Linked DNA regions of Homo sapiens: region 1 is linked to region 2. Evidence: promoter capture Hi-C in 16 types of primary human blood cells and fetal thymus (Javierre and others, 2016). All regions are on one chromosome and are shown on one strand. The core of a region is centred on a gene start or on the middle of the fragment in contact, and the rest is flanking DNA. Distances in the headings are between cores, read along the strand shown.

Region 1 (6,910 bases), core at 962-3,461, 890 kb before region 2:
TCCATCATAAAGGAACACCTGCCAACATCTCATTATGCTTCTGTTCCATCAGATCAGACAATAGAATCTCATCTAGGCACAAGCTGAGGCAAAAATTCATATTATGAGCATAGGGACCTTCACAAAGAATGGGTAGAACCTAGACCTAGGCACATTCCATTTCCTATCACTTTTGACTCAACTGGGTTAGACCCAAGTTACTCAGTCTGATGTAAACCACAGATTCCTTTCAGTCTTAGTTTTCATTGATCATACTTCCAGTCGGTCCCAGGTATCCCAGTAGGCCATAGTTATTAAAGAGCATACGGTTTTCAAGCATTTTTTTCTCACCAGTACTTACAAATTTATCCCCCTCAAAACGTAAAAGGTAAAATTATGATAATAGTAAACCTAGAGAATGCACAATAGTAAAAAAAGAAAATCAATGATCTTATAATCCACAGATTTCATGGAGTTGTTACTATTTCTATTTTGCTTTCCCCTCATGCCTCTGTGATTTCTTAAAAATTGAATTGGGATCATATGTAATTTCATACTTTCCTCTAAAAATATTGTGTCATAAAACCAGAGATTTAAGATTCTATTATTAATTTGATTGAAGAAGTAAAAAGACAAAATAAAATTGTATTACAGCTAATATAAAACGTCTCCATTACTGATTTTTCTTTGAAGCAATCCTAGAAGCTTCTTTCAGAGGCTGACCCTTTCCTCATCTACAACTTCATCTACCACTACAAGAAAAAGAAAAAACAATGAAATAAAAAAATGTGAGGTGACATTTTCAATTTCTGTCCTGCCTCAATGTAACGGAAACCCTTTGCCTTCACTTCCCTTGAGTAAGTGGCCAGTTGCTATGATTGGTAGGTTCCATTGTGACCCTGAGATGCTGGGAAAGGGACAAATCATAAATGCTACTCAATAATTCTGATTTTAGAGAGATTTTTATCTCCACCCAGGAGATGCCTGCAAAATGATTCATTGGTGCTTTGAACAGGGTTGGCCAACCCTTATTTCAAGAGAATTGAGAAAAGGGGATTTATGATGACACAGTCTGCCTGTTTTCCAGGCTGATGTTTGCAATTTGTTTTTGAGAGCAGGTCAGTTCTGCTGCTATTTCATTCTCCTGGCAGGCCTTTACCTTCCACATGGCAGGGTCCCTTCATGTAGGAAATTAGCTAACAAACTTGAGATTGACAAGAAAGACAGGCACATAAATTTGTTGTAATAAAGAATGCATTAAGGCAAACTTTCTTCAAAAACAAAAAATACGCACTTATTTTTGACTATGTATGATTATATACCCAATGACAATGGGTTATATGAATAAAGGGCTCATACATGCTGATTTCTAGAATGCCTGCTGTCCCACTATCGTTTTTCATTTTACCCGCTCTAACACCCCCTCTTTCATGCTTAGATTGGGAACAGAAATGTAAAAAGCATGACAGGAAAAATTGTTCATCTGGTTCAGGAGGAGCTGAGGCAAATGGTAAGTTAACAATCTGACAGGTGAAGCTGCTGCTCTTCTGAAATTTACTGTCCAATTTTGCAGCTCAAATTGGATTGGGTAAAGTTGTATCCAGTGCACGTTTACAAAAGGAAAGTATTCAGGCTGATCTTGCTCTGTGACTTGAAGCCTACTGCCCTGCCCTCTCTTGCAAGGTAAACTATGCAGCTAAGTCACATGCATAGCAGTACTGATAATGGACCATGGAGCTAAGGGCCTCTCTTATTCCTTTCACAAGTCAGCACACACAGCTGGTGAATTTGCCTATTTTTGAGATCGTCAGAGAGTCATATATAGCAAATATATATTTCAGTCAACAAGCAAAAGTGTGCAATAAATAAATAAATAAATAAATAAACATAAAAAAAAAGAAACAAGTTTCTTTGTTTTCCAAATCTCTACTTAATGTTATTTTCAAGCCCATTTCACTAAGATTGAACAATGTAGTCTCACTCAATTTGGAGTCTCCTCTTCCTCCTGCCATTCTAGCCCTAGACTTGAGTCTAAGTCTCAGGAGATGTGAGTAAAGCTGACACTTCCTGACAAGAGCTCATCCCGACCTTGGTGCACACAGGTACCCACTGTTCCACACGGGTCATCACTGGGACATCCCTAAGTCATGTCCACATGACTCTTTCCTCTATTTCCAAGCTATGGAGTTATCCTGCTGCTTTTGTGCCCCATTAGGAGTTCCAGAATTTCTGGTAGGGGCTTAAAGCTCTAGCAGAAATTGCTATCCATCTGCATAGTATGTGGTCCTGGCCAGAAGAGCAATCCTCTTGCTCATCTCATTATCCAAGACCTAGTTCATGCCTCACATACTCCACGAGTCCTCTCCTTTTAACTCAGGAGCCCATTTTTCTCTTTTCCCTTTAAGATCCTGTAGCACTGGGCCGGGCTTATGCCTGTAATCCTAGCACTTTGGGAGGCCGAGGTGGGTGGATAGCCTGAGGTCAGGAGTTCAAGACCAGCCTGGCCAACATGGTGAAATGCTTCTCTACTAAAAATACAAAAATTAGCCAGGCCTGGTGGCGGGCGCCTGTAATCCCAGCTACTTGGGAGGCTGAGGCAAGAGAATTGCTTGAACCCGGGAGGCAGAGGTTGCAGTGAGCCAAGATCGTGCCACTTCACTCCAGCCTGGACAAAAGAGCAAAACTCTGTCTCGATAAATAAATAAATAAATAATAAATAAATAAATAATAAATAAATAAAAATAAAAATAAAAAGATCCTGTAGCACTCATCTAGCACTTGTTATGAAGGAACTGTCTTGTTGTTGAGCTTTCCATGAATGCTTGCAGGGCATTTTAGGGATGGGCTTCATCACCTTTACAGTCTAATGAGTATCCATATGCCTTCCTCCTATAAATTAGTACTCCATCTTGAAGCTGAAAAGTCCACATGCTCATGTAGAGAGGCAAAGAAAGGAACCACAGGTAATGGGAGAAGAATGAAGGTTCATGTTATAGGTTATACAGATCATGCATCAACAAGTAAAAAAACATGCCACACATATATTTTATCTTCTGCACTACGTTAATAAGCTCAAAGGCAACGTCTCTGTTTTAACCATCTTTCGTTTATTTCAGCCCAATGACTCATTTGATGGATGATAGCTGTGCTGTATGCTGACCCAATTACAAGTGCAATGAAATCACAAGGAGGAAATTAAAAAATAAAAATTCCCACCAGAACATTTATTCTCAAGATAAATCAGGAAATGGTATCTATGAATATGATTAATGGATAAGCCCAAAGACGATTCCTCTATCATCACTTTATTGGTAACTCACAGCAAGTTTGGTTCAATTCAGTCCAAGTTTGTTGACTTTCTACATATTGCTGCTGTATGAGTCTCTGGTGATACAGAGAAGAGATAGACATGATTGTGGGGTTACAGTGCTTGGAATTTCTTAGCAGGTGGGCATGCTACATAGATATAAATATGAATACAGGTATTCAAGAAACTATTATTTTCTTAAATAAAATATTCATTTTTGAGGACAGTGCCCCAAGAGGTATTTTTGTTGGAGAAAAAAATATATATATATATAAGGTATGGTGCTTTCAGGTGGGCTGGAAGTGGGCTGCAACTTCTCAAGCCAGGAAGCTCATCCAAAAACAAAACAGATGCTGTTTAGGGGTAGTTAACTAAGGAGCAATTTTATGCTAAGGTGCAGTTTTATGCTAAGGAGCAATTTTATGCTGTATACAGACCTTTATTAAAAATCCTAAGCTTTGCTCTTATTTGGGCAGGTCTTGAATTGGGTACACATACATGTGTATAATTATCTAAACCCAGACATTTTCAAAAGCAAAAAGGGGCACTATTAATAATTATGCTGTGACGAAAGAAGGCATAAACCTGAAAGTATGGCTTTCCAAGTCTTGCAGAACTGACTGTCAGAGTTAATGAAAATAATATAAGGGCCAACTAAAACAAACAATGACACCTCTGAAACAAACCTCTCCTGAATGGAATATCACAGCTGCCGTAGAAGTAGTCATTTCCCATTTGTGGTAAGAATGAAGCAGTCTCCCCAGAATAATTCCACAAACATATTTGCTTCCTCCAGAATTCACTGTTTGCAAATTCCCTGACCTGGGGGTTTACTGTTCCCAGATCTGAAGTTATCACAATATTTACTTGGTCTTGGGCTGATAGGGAAAAAACTTTAGAAAGATGATGAATATTAGATACCAACGAAACAGTATTATTTGAGTGTGTTTCTTTGCATGAGGCATTGAATTTGTGAGTGATGCTGAGGTTTGAATGTATATTTATGTAACTTCACTGTAGGCTATTTTAATAGCATTACATGTTATTCCTTTTATAAAATAGTATATAATACTTCTTGTAGATCATTTTAAAAATACAAAAAAATACAGAAGAAAATAGAATCATATGTAAACCCTAGAGAGAGAACATTTTGCTATCTTTCCATTGGTGTATTTCATGTAGTTGAGTTTATACTGTACATAGAGTTTTTTCTTCCCTTTCCATCTACTATTATACTATTTTAATGCAATTATTATGCAGTATTCAATAATGATATCTAATATTTATGGATGCTAATATATATGATATAATTTAAACCATGTGACAGTCCTACAAGGTAGGCATGTTCGTGAACCCATTTTGCAGATGAAGAAACTGGGAAGTTTGGTGAGGGAATTTGTTCAAGGTTTCACTCACTTAAAACAGATCTTGGGATTGAACCAAGTCTAAATCATACCAGAGTTCAGGTCCTTAACCAACAGGCTCTGCTGTATCAGTTAAGTTTTGGTTCTGAAAATGGAAGCCACTCTAAGTTTTTTTCACTATAAAGGAAGCTGACGTAGGGAATAAGGCTTATACAACCTTTATATATGCCTCCCATTGGAAGAAAACAATGATCAGGATGGCTCTAGATCTAGAAACACAAATATTGCAGTGATATCACTACTACTGAGCTTAGCTGCTTGCAGCATCTGGGAGCTGCTGACAAAGCCCCACATCAGCCATTTGCTGATACCCAGACGCGTGCCTAGATCTTTACTGGAAGCAATGGCCCATCTTTTTCTTCTGCTTTGCAAACTTCACAAAGTGCCACCCCAATGATATTCAAACAGGCACTTGAGAAACGTGATTTCCATGCTTTCAGGCCCTGTTTTACAAGGGGAAAGCTTAGAAGGACAGAAAGGATACTGAACATCCACAGATAATATCAGGCTCACAGGTTATGAGACAAAGCATAATTTACCTGATTTTTTCTATCATTATGCATTTAGGTTGTTTCCTAGCTTGTGGCTACACACTTCACTGGCTCATATGCCCACCTGCATATATATTTTAGCCACACACCCAATTTCAGTTCTCCCAGGGAGAACTGAATATGCAGGTGGGCATATGACCCAGGCAGAGCTGAAATTGGAGTGTGTGGTTAAGATATATCCCAGGTGAGCTCACAAATGTTCTGCTCTTCCACTCCTGGCCCCCTGCTGATGCTTACTGTCCAAACAGCCGCTTGAGGGCAGCACCTCCCCACTACTACAGATGCTGGCACCTGGCATGGTGATGCTGGCTTGCCTCCCTAGGCTAGGTCTCCTTATCTTCCCAAAGCTGCAGACCCTCAGGTTGCCAAGGCACATCATCCGTCTGTGCTGAACCCAACCAAGATTCTTCACCAAGTGAAGAATGCTCTGCACTAAGTCTTCTAACTTCTCCCCTGAGTACTAAACAGAGTTTTCAGGCCTCTGTGTCTCATTTATGGAAACAGCTTCTTTAGTGTCTGAGGGTGATTCTCTGTCCCTTGTGGCTAGACTGACCTATGGGCCTGGTCGGAGGCAGATGTCTCATTGTCTGCCATCTACTCCTCTCTATCGCTTGATGCCCAACCTCTGAGAAATTCTTTCCTTGATGAAAATCAACTCATGGGAAAGAAACTCCAGTTAACTGCCAGCTCTGACACTTCACAACACATGCATTTATTGTTTGAACCCTTAGGTTGAGAAACTTTCTGTATAATCTACTGCTACAATGAAAATTTTGGCCATCACTCTTTGTTCACATTCTCTCCTTAGAGAAGGCTGTGATACATATTGGCAAATTTCTTCCCGAAAGATCACACCAATTTATGCTTCCACCATCCAGTGACAGTGCCTGTATTTGTACCCTGGTCACTGCACTCTCCACTGAATGGTATTTTATCAATCTATGGAGACATTATATTTATGTGTATGTGCATGCATATATATATTTATATGTGTGTGCATGTATATGTATATAAGGGTGTGTGTTTCCCTCAGGATGTTCTGCTCACCATATTAAAATAAATCATGCCCAAATTCTCTCTGCTATATTCTTGAGACCCAAAGCACTGAGCCTTCCAAAAATGTGAGGACGGCAACAGCCCCAACATATCTGTTTAGTCCATTGTAACTGTGATCATTGCAGCTGTTGATTGATTGAAAGGTATTCTTCCAGAGGTTGAAGGGGTGTATTGCTAAGGAGTAGGTTTAACTGCAAGTGACCAAAAAGCCAAAATAAGAGTGGCTTAAACTAGATAGGTTTTTTTTTTCTCTGTCCTCTAGGGACAAAATCAGTAGTTAACAAGGCCAAGGCTGGTATGAGATCCCTGGAACCCAGGTTCTTTTCATTTTTAATTCTCAAATTTGCATCCACTTTCCATCCAGCAAGAAGAAGAAAAGGGAAGAAAAAGATGGGTTTCTTCCTTCAAAAGACATTTTCTAGAAGCTGTATGCATAACCCCAAGTATATAGGTAAGTTCAGCTGCAAGAAAGTATGGGAAATTCAGTCTTTATTCTATGTAATTGTTTTCCAGCTAAAAATAAGAGGAGTTAAGTAAAGAACAGATCTAAAGAGACAAACAGAAGTCCCTCACCTGGAGGTATATAAGATATG
Region 2 (6,731 bases), core at 1,524-4,023:
CTTTTGTTTTAGGATTTAGTTAACAATAGCTCTATTCAAACCAACTTGGCCCTTCTGCAGTCTTCTAAGAGCAAATACAAACTTTAATACAAATGTCGCTGAATATGACTTAGCATTAGCTTTGCTTAAAAATCATGTAATTTTTTTTATTTAACTGTCCATGGCAAAAAACAAGCATTCAGTAAGTAATGAATAAGTTGTTCTATTTATTTCAATTATTAGTTATACAAAAAAACGTAGGGTTTGCCACAAGGTAAGCAGAGGAGAATCAGCCATGATTTGGTGGTCCTCTGAGAAGACACCCCTTCCCCAGACTACTAGATTTCTCTTCAAATCCCACGCTTTTCCTCAACTAATTTGCAATAAGAGAAGTACACTTATGTTTTTTGTTACACAATCAGCAAATAGTTACTACGCCTGGCAACTCTGCTTTATTTCTGTGCCCCCTGAACACACTTCACTCACCTTGAAAAGCTTTCTGATAGGACAGAGCACATGATCTTGGTAGCACGTCACACAGCAACCTTCTACCCAGAGCACATGACAAAACAGATCAGCTTTCAAATATCAACACTGGGAACATGTTTCTCTCCCTGTGTTTCACTATCCGGAAAGGCGCACAAACTGTGCAGATCACATGGCAGTTCACATGAAACTTTAATGGTCAGCTGTTCACAGCAGTATCAATTCTGCCTCAGTGGCTACACCTCAGATTCAGTGGTTGTTTTGGGTCTCCAGAATCATACTTTCTCATATCAGTGCAGTAATTTTCTTGTAAAATCATTCTGTCATGAAATTTGGCTGTTTTGACATTATTGCTTTAAATCAGTATTAAAACTCAAATAGGTTATGAATAACTGTTACGGTCGCTTATGTAATGATCCACAAGACTGAGAAACGGCCCAGCCACTCCATCCCACAACTGGCAGGTCAATAGGGTAATTTAAGGCCAGGCAAAAAGTCAGTGATACTTGCTAGAAGTGAACAAATGTCAGACTCTCAAGTGAAACCCTCAATACGTAAGTCAATACTGATTCTTAATTCTCTCTCAAGTGCCCTTGAAAATGACGGAGCATTGCAACAAACAAACTGCAAACAACAAACTATGAGTAACTATATCTCGCCAGTGTGCAAATGATTCCGGTAGTGCCATCTCTTGTTCTGACCTGTTATGCAGGGTTACTGAGTGGCTACTCAAAAGAAGTGACTGACTACTACCCACATAGAGAAGAGTAAGGTTTAAATGGGAGGAGTATTTTACAGCACCTGGGGCAAGGAGGCAGGGTGGAAGGAACAGGTGTAGGAAAAAAGAAAAAGCTCTCAAGTGGCCCCTTGACTGATAGTAGGAAAAAGAACATGAGACCTCAGCTTTCACCCTTTGTTGTATTCAAGGAAGAGGGTGTTGAATCGGCTTTATTTCGGTTTTGTGGAAGTACTTTGGGTTTAATTTCTTTCTCAGTTTATATATTGTCTTTCTTCTGCAAAAATCAAGTGCTGGTTTTGACCATGCACTTAAATAGGTCAGCACATTTCTAAAGTACACTATGCGCTTCTGAAGTACTTTATTTGTAAGCCCTCATCTAGGGAAAAAATCAATCAGCAAGAAACTCTTGATGATGGACTACGTGCTCTCAATTACCCTGAACATCACAGAAGGCCTTCAAAGACATCACCTTGTATCTGAGAAGCAAAACTAACATCTGTGAAGCAACAATTCGCAATACAAGAAACACTATAATTAAAAGTCAATTATGTTTCACCATCTGCCTTTATCCCTGGAGGTTGGTCTTAAGGTAGAGAGGGGCAGGATATCCTTGGACACAACCTCACCCAATTAAAAATCAAGACAAATTAAGATGTTCTGTACTTCTGTCCTGTCCTTACTTGATTAAGCCCACCCATTCTGCCAAATGCAAACAAAGTAAGGTATGGACAGGAAGCAGGTGAAGGAGGTAGAGGGAAGATCCTTTCAGAAAAGCAGTGGTTGCCTACTTTCAGTCAATGAATATTTACTAAGCCGTGTCCAAAGTACACTTTGCTGTTTTCACTTCTTTGTCAAAATATTGCCCCCTCGCCCCCAGCAGGAACTGCTGGACCAGTCTGGGCAGTCACGCTAAGCCACATTACAACACGATCAGCATACTGCCTGACGCACAAGGCACGGGGCCTCTGGACGCGTGTTCTGAGCCCTTCGCAGGAGACTCGTCCTACAGAGCCGAAGAAAACAGAAAATCATGAACACAAAGAAGAGCACGAAGCCGACCTCCAACTGGCAAAATCAGAAATCTCTGCCGAGAATGGCTCGAGCGCTTTTCTCGGTCCTCTCTTCCTCCGCTGCCCACCCGCAGGCCGGTCGCCCGCCCTTCCCGCGCCCCGCGTCCGCCGCGCGTACCTCCCTCTCGGTCAGGTTCTTGTCCGGCCCCAGCAGGTACGGGGTCAGGAAGGGCTCGGACGGCCTGAGGCTGGCGAAGAAGCCGTAGGCGCAGAGCAGCGCGGTCGGCAAGAACCAGCATTCGCGACGGACCCGAGCGGTCCGCAGGAGCACAGTGGCCGCCGCCGCCGCCGCCCGCCGAGACACCGGGCCGGGCACATCCATCCGGGGCGCGAGGGGAGGGGACCCGGCCCGGCCCCTTCCTTCTCCTCCTCCGCCAACTGGAGTGAGGGTCAGGCACTTGTAACCGCGAGTGACGCCTTCTCCCTGTAAGGCCAGGACGTTCTGGACTCGCCGCCGCCTCCGGCTACAGAACCCCCAGCTTTACCCTACAGACGCCTCTAGGGTCGCTGCCTGATCGCCCAGTTTAAGGGAGACCCGTCCTAAGGCCCACCCTCTGCCACCGCCTCCACTCCGGGAACCAATCACAGCGGACGCCGGGAATACTTGCCTGCTCTTCCATTGGTCGTGGGTCACACGACGTGAACTGGGGCGGTGGCAGCACGCCAGGCCTCTGACGTCCCAGGGCTCAAGCGCGGAGGACATGTGGAACTCCACTCCAAAAGCGGCGGCTTGCGGCGGAGCTCTCTCTAGTGAGGCGGCCAGCTGGCGTTCGTGGCACACTTGCTGTCGGCTCCGCTCATCTGTTGGGAATGCGTCCTGTGGGCCTAGTCCTCCGCTGGAAGAAACGCGCTGTTCTCCCCAACCACCGTTTATCATTCTTATTCACCGTCTCCGGAATGTCCATTCAGTTTCCGCTCCTGAGAGACTTAGTGACTGAGGCCAGGCAAAGATTTCACCTTGGGGAGGGGGAACGTTAAACCTTTCCTCCAGCAGCTTTCGTGTTTTAAATTGTATTCATCCGCCATGGAAAGACATCAGAAGCCCAGGATCTAAGAGACAGACTGAAATGAAGAAAGTAGATAATATTGTGAGAATAATGAACAAGCTGGTCACTGAACAGCAGAACCGTAATGGAGTCCCAGTTAAAGGGTTTTAACTTTATTTCGTCACTTTTTGCAAGCATGATACAAAGAAAACAAACACCTAACTACGCTACGGTTTATAGTTAAAAGGAAGGTGGAAGATCCTGAGTCATTACAGCAATCACAAAACATGATGGATTTCTTCATTTAAAAACACAAAAGAGGTCTTGGCATAGTTTTCAAGGGCAAAGCATGACAAGACTCTCCAGTGCTTTCTTTCATCCCCCTCTGTGTGCCTTTTTCTGCCTGACTCACAGCCTGGCTCAATCCTAATCTTTCTACTGCAAAGATGCAGCATTTAAAGCAATTTTTCCTGTGCAGTATTTGTAGAATGACAGATCCTGCCAGAAGCTCTTGGAAACATTTTGGAACTATCTTGCTTTTCTGTATGTTATGATCCATCTAGCACCGTTTTCCTCCTGTGGTAGCAAATGACACTTTTTTCAAGCATCAGCAGCAGAAATGAGTCTACCAGATGGAATAAGATACTGGTAAAGGGAAAGATTTGTTTCTAAGACTGCACAAATGAATGCACCCAAATCTGTGAGTTGATTAATCTGTGAAGAAATACAACTGGCAGTATTTACATATCTCAATGAGTCTCAAAGTGTGGTCGAGGAAGCCCTGGGGGTCCTTGGGACCCTTTCAGAGGTTCCACGAGCTCAAATCTATTTTCATAACCATGCTAAGTCTTTATTTCCTTTTCCACTCCAGAGGCTATATAATGTCTGATGACATCATCGCTTTATAGGATGAGAGAATACGTGCTTGTATATTCTTGTGTTTGTAAGACTTTCCAGGTTTAATTTATTACCATATGGCAATTTTCAATAAGTATAACCCACAAAACCCAACAGATTTTTGGGGCACCTCTAACAAGGGTCCTAAGACCAAAATGTTTGAGGACTGCTAATCGATATTATTCAATTGTCTAGTCCCCTAAACTCCAACCCTTCTTATCAGGACTACAGAGAGAAAACAGGTGGTCTTCTTGACAATCGCTTTGTATTTACATTCAGTGCTTTAGTAGAAGAGAAGAAAGAAAGAGAAAGCAAGCCAGAGAGGCCTCGGAAAGAGAAGCCTACTTATTAAAAATAGCTTTCTGGCTGGTCACGGTGGCTCACTCCTGTAATCCCAGCACTTTGGGAGGCCGAGACGGGCGGATCACTTGAGGTCAGGAGTCTCAGACCAGCCAGGCCAACATGGCGAAAACACGTCTCTACTAAAAATGCAAAAATTAGCCGGGCATAGTGGCATGCACGCCTGTAGTCCCAGCTACTTGGGAGGCAGAGGCAGGAGAGCCACTTGAACCCAGGAGGCGGAGGTTGCAGTGAGCGGAGAGCGAGACTCGCGAGTACTCGTCTCAAAAAACAAAACAACAATAACAAAAACAGCTTTCCATCCCTTCCCTGAGGCTTGGGTACCTGAACCACGTTAATCTGTAAATCACTGCTTCTGTAACTTTTCCTTGGTATAAATCACATAGGCAATGAGGTTGGGTATAAACAGTAATTGTCCTTGAATTGGGTAGATGTTTTCTTATTATTTTTGTCTAAGAGGTCATTGCGATAGGCAGAATTCTAAGAATGATCCCCAGTGACGCTTGCCCTTGTATAACCCCCACCCATTTGAGTGTGAGGTGAAACCTATGAATTTGATGAGGCAATACTCCTGTTATTATGTTACGTTTTATGACAGATGTGAGATTTTCCAGGTGGGCCCAATCTAATCACAACAGCCCTTTAAAAGCAGAGATTTTCCGTCTGCTAAGAGCAGAAGAGGAAGTCAGAGAGATTTGAAGGATGAGAAGAATTTGACGTGCTGCTGTTGGAGGGGGCTACATACCAAGAAATGTGGGCATCCTATAGCAACTGAAACTGGCTCCTGGCTGACAGCCAGCAGAGAATCAGGATATCAGTCCCAGAATCATAAGGAACTGAATTCTGCTAAAAACCTAAATGAGCTTGGAAGTGGGATTCTTCCGAGAAGAGCCCAGCCGGGTCACCATCTTAATTTTGGTCTGCGAAACCGTAAGCAGAGAATCCACTCAAGCCCACCTGGATCTACAGAACTGTGAGCTAAGCTGATGTGGTAATATTTTAAAGCCGCTAAATTTTTGTTCATTTGTTGTGCAGCAATAGGAATCTAACACAAAGGTAAATAGAATATATTTTTTAAATCGAGGCAATATTCACATAACATAAAATTAACCATTAATTAAGTGTACAACCCAGTGGCATTACTACATTCATAATATTGTGAAACCATCACTTCTGTCTAATTCCAAGACATTTTCACCACCCTACAGGAAACTGATACCCATTAAGCAGTCACTCCCTGTTCCCTCCTCCCCTTAGTCCCTGGCAAACACTAATATGCTTTCTGCCTATGGATTTGTCTATTCTGGAGGTTACATACAATTTGTGACCTTTTGTGTCTAGCTTCTTTCACTTAGTTTAATGTTTTAAAGATTCATCCACATTGTAGCATGTATCAGTACTTCGTTCCTTTTTATGGCTAAGTAATATGTGTATATACAACATTTTGTTTATCCATCAATTGATAACATTTGGATTATTTTTACTTTTGTCTATTGTGAATAGTGCTGCTATGAACATTTGTATGCAAGTGTGTATTTGAATATTTATTTTTATTTCTTTGGGGTATATACCTAGGAGTAGAATTGTTGTGTCATTTGGTAATTCTGTGTTTATCTAAGAAACTGCCAAACTGTTTTCCACAGGCTGCATGATTTCACATTCTCATAAGTAATGTACAAAGGTTCCAATTTGTCCACATCCTTGCCAACACTTATTTTCCTTTTTATAGTAGCCATCCTGGTGGGTGTGAAGTGGTATCTCATTGTGGTTTTGATGTACTTCTCTAATGACTGATGTTGAGCATCTTCTCATGTATTTGTTGGCCAATCATATAACTTCTTTGGAGAAATGCCTATTCAAGTCCTTTGCCCCTCTTTGATTCAGTTGTTTGTCTTTTTGTTGTTGAGTTAGAAGAGTTCTTTATAAATTCTAGGTACTAGACCTTTGTCAGATATGATTTGCAAATATATTTTCTTCCATTCAGTAGGGGTAAATAGAATATTGAGAGACTTTTTATATAGTAATATAAAAAAGCATGAAGGGATGTGTTTTGCAAAAAGTAAGATTACACAGTATTATACAACTATGTTATACACTTTGGCTCTTGGTTTTCTCTCTAAGGAATAACTCATGAAGAACATTCCATGTGTTAAGGTATACCTCTAATTCTTTCTAATGCCTACATAATATCCTATTGCATGGGTGTGCTATTCA

The links. Contacts are between HindIII fragments. The CHiCAGO score rates a contact against its expected background, and 5 or more counts as called.
Region 1: a contact is called between a fragment that was not itself captured here and the fragment with the promoter of SLC19A2 in region 2, in 4 of 17 cell types (fetal thymus, megakaryocytes, M2 macrophages and 1 more). The highest score is 8.9, in fetal thymus.

The regions. Positions count from the first base shown.
Region 1 is chr1:168,598,162-168,605,071 of GRCh38, forward strand. No RefSeq gene overlaps it. Among named protein-coding and RNA genes, the nearest start is that of XCL1, 25 kb to the left of the region's middle. The HindIII fragment of the contact is 3,058 bases long and covers 683-3,740 here.
Region 2 is chr1:169,483,171-169,489,901 of GRCh38, forward strand. It overlaps SLC19A2 (solute carrier family 19 member 2), which reads right to left and starts at 2,774. Exons shown (of 6, transcript NM_006996.3): 1 at 2,393-2,774. The coding sequence starts at 2,596. RefSeq lists enhancers at 2,179-2,238, 2,781-3,075, 2,879-3,128, 2,911-3,831, 3,139-3,208 and a silencer at 2,419-2,598. The HindIII fragment of the contact is 10,248 bases long and covers 473-6,731 here.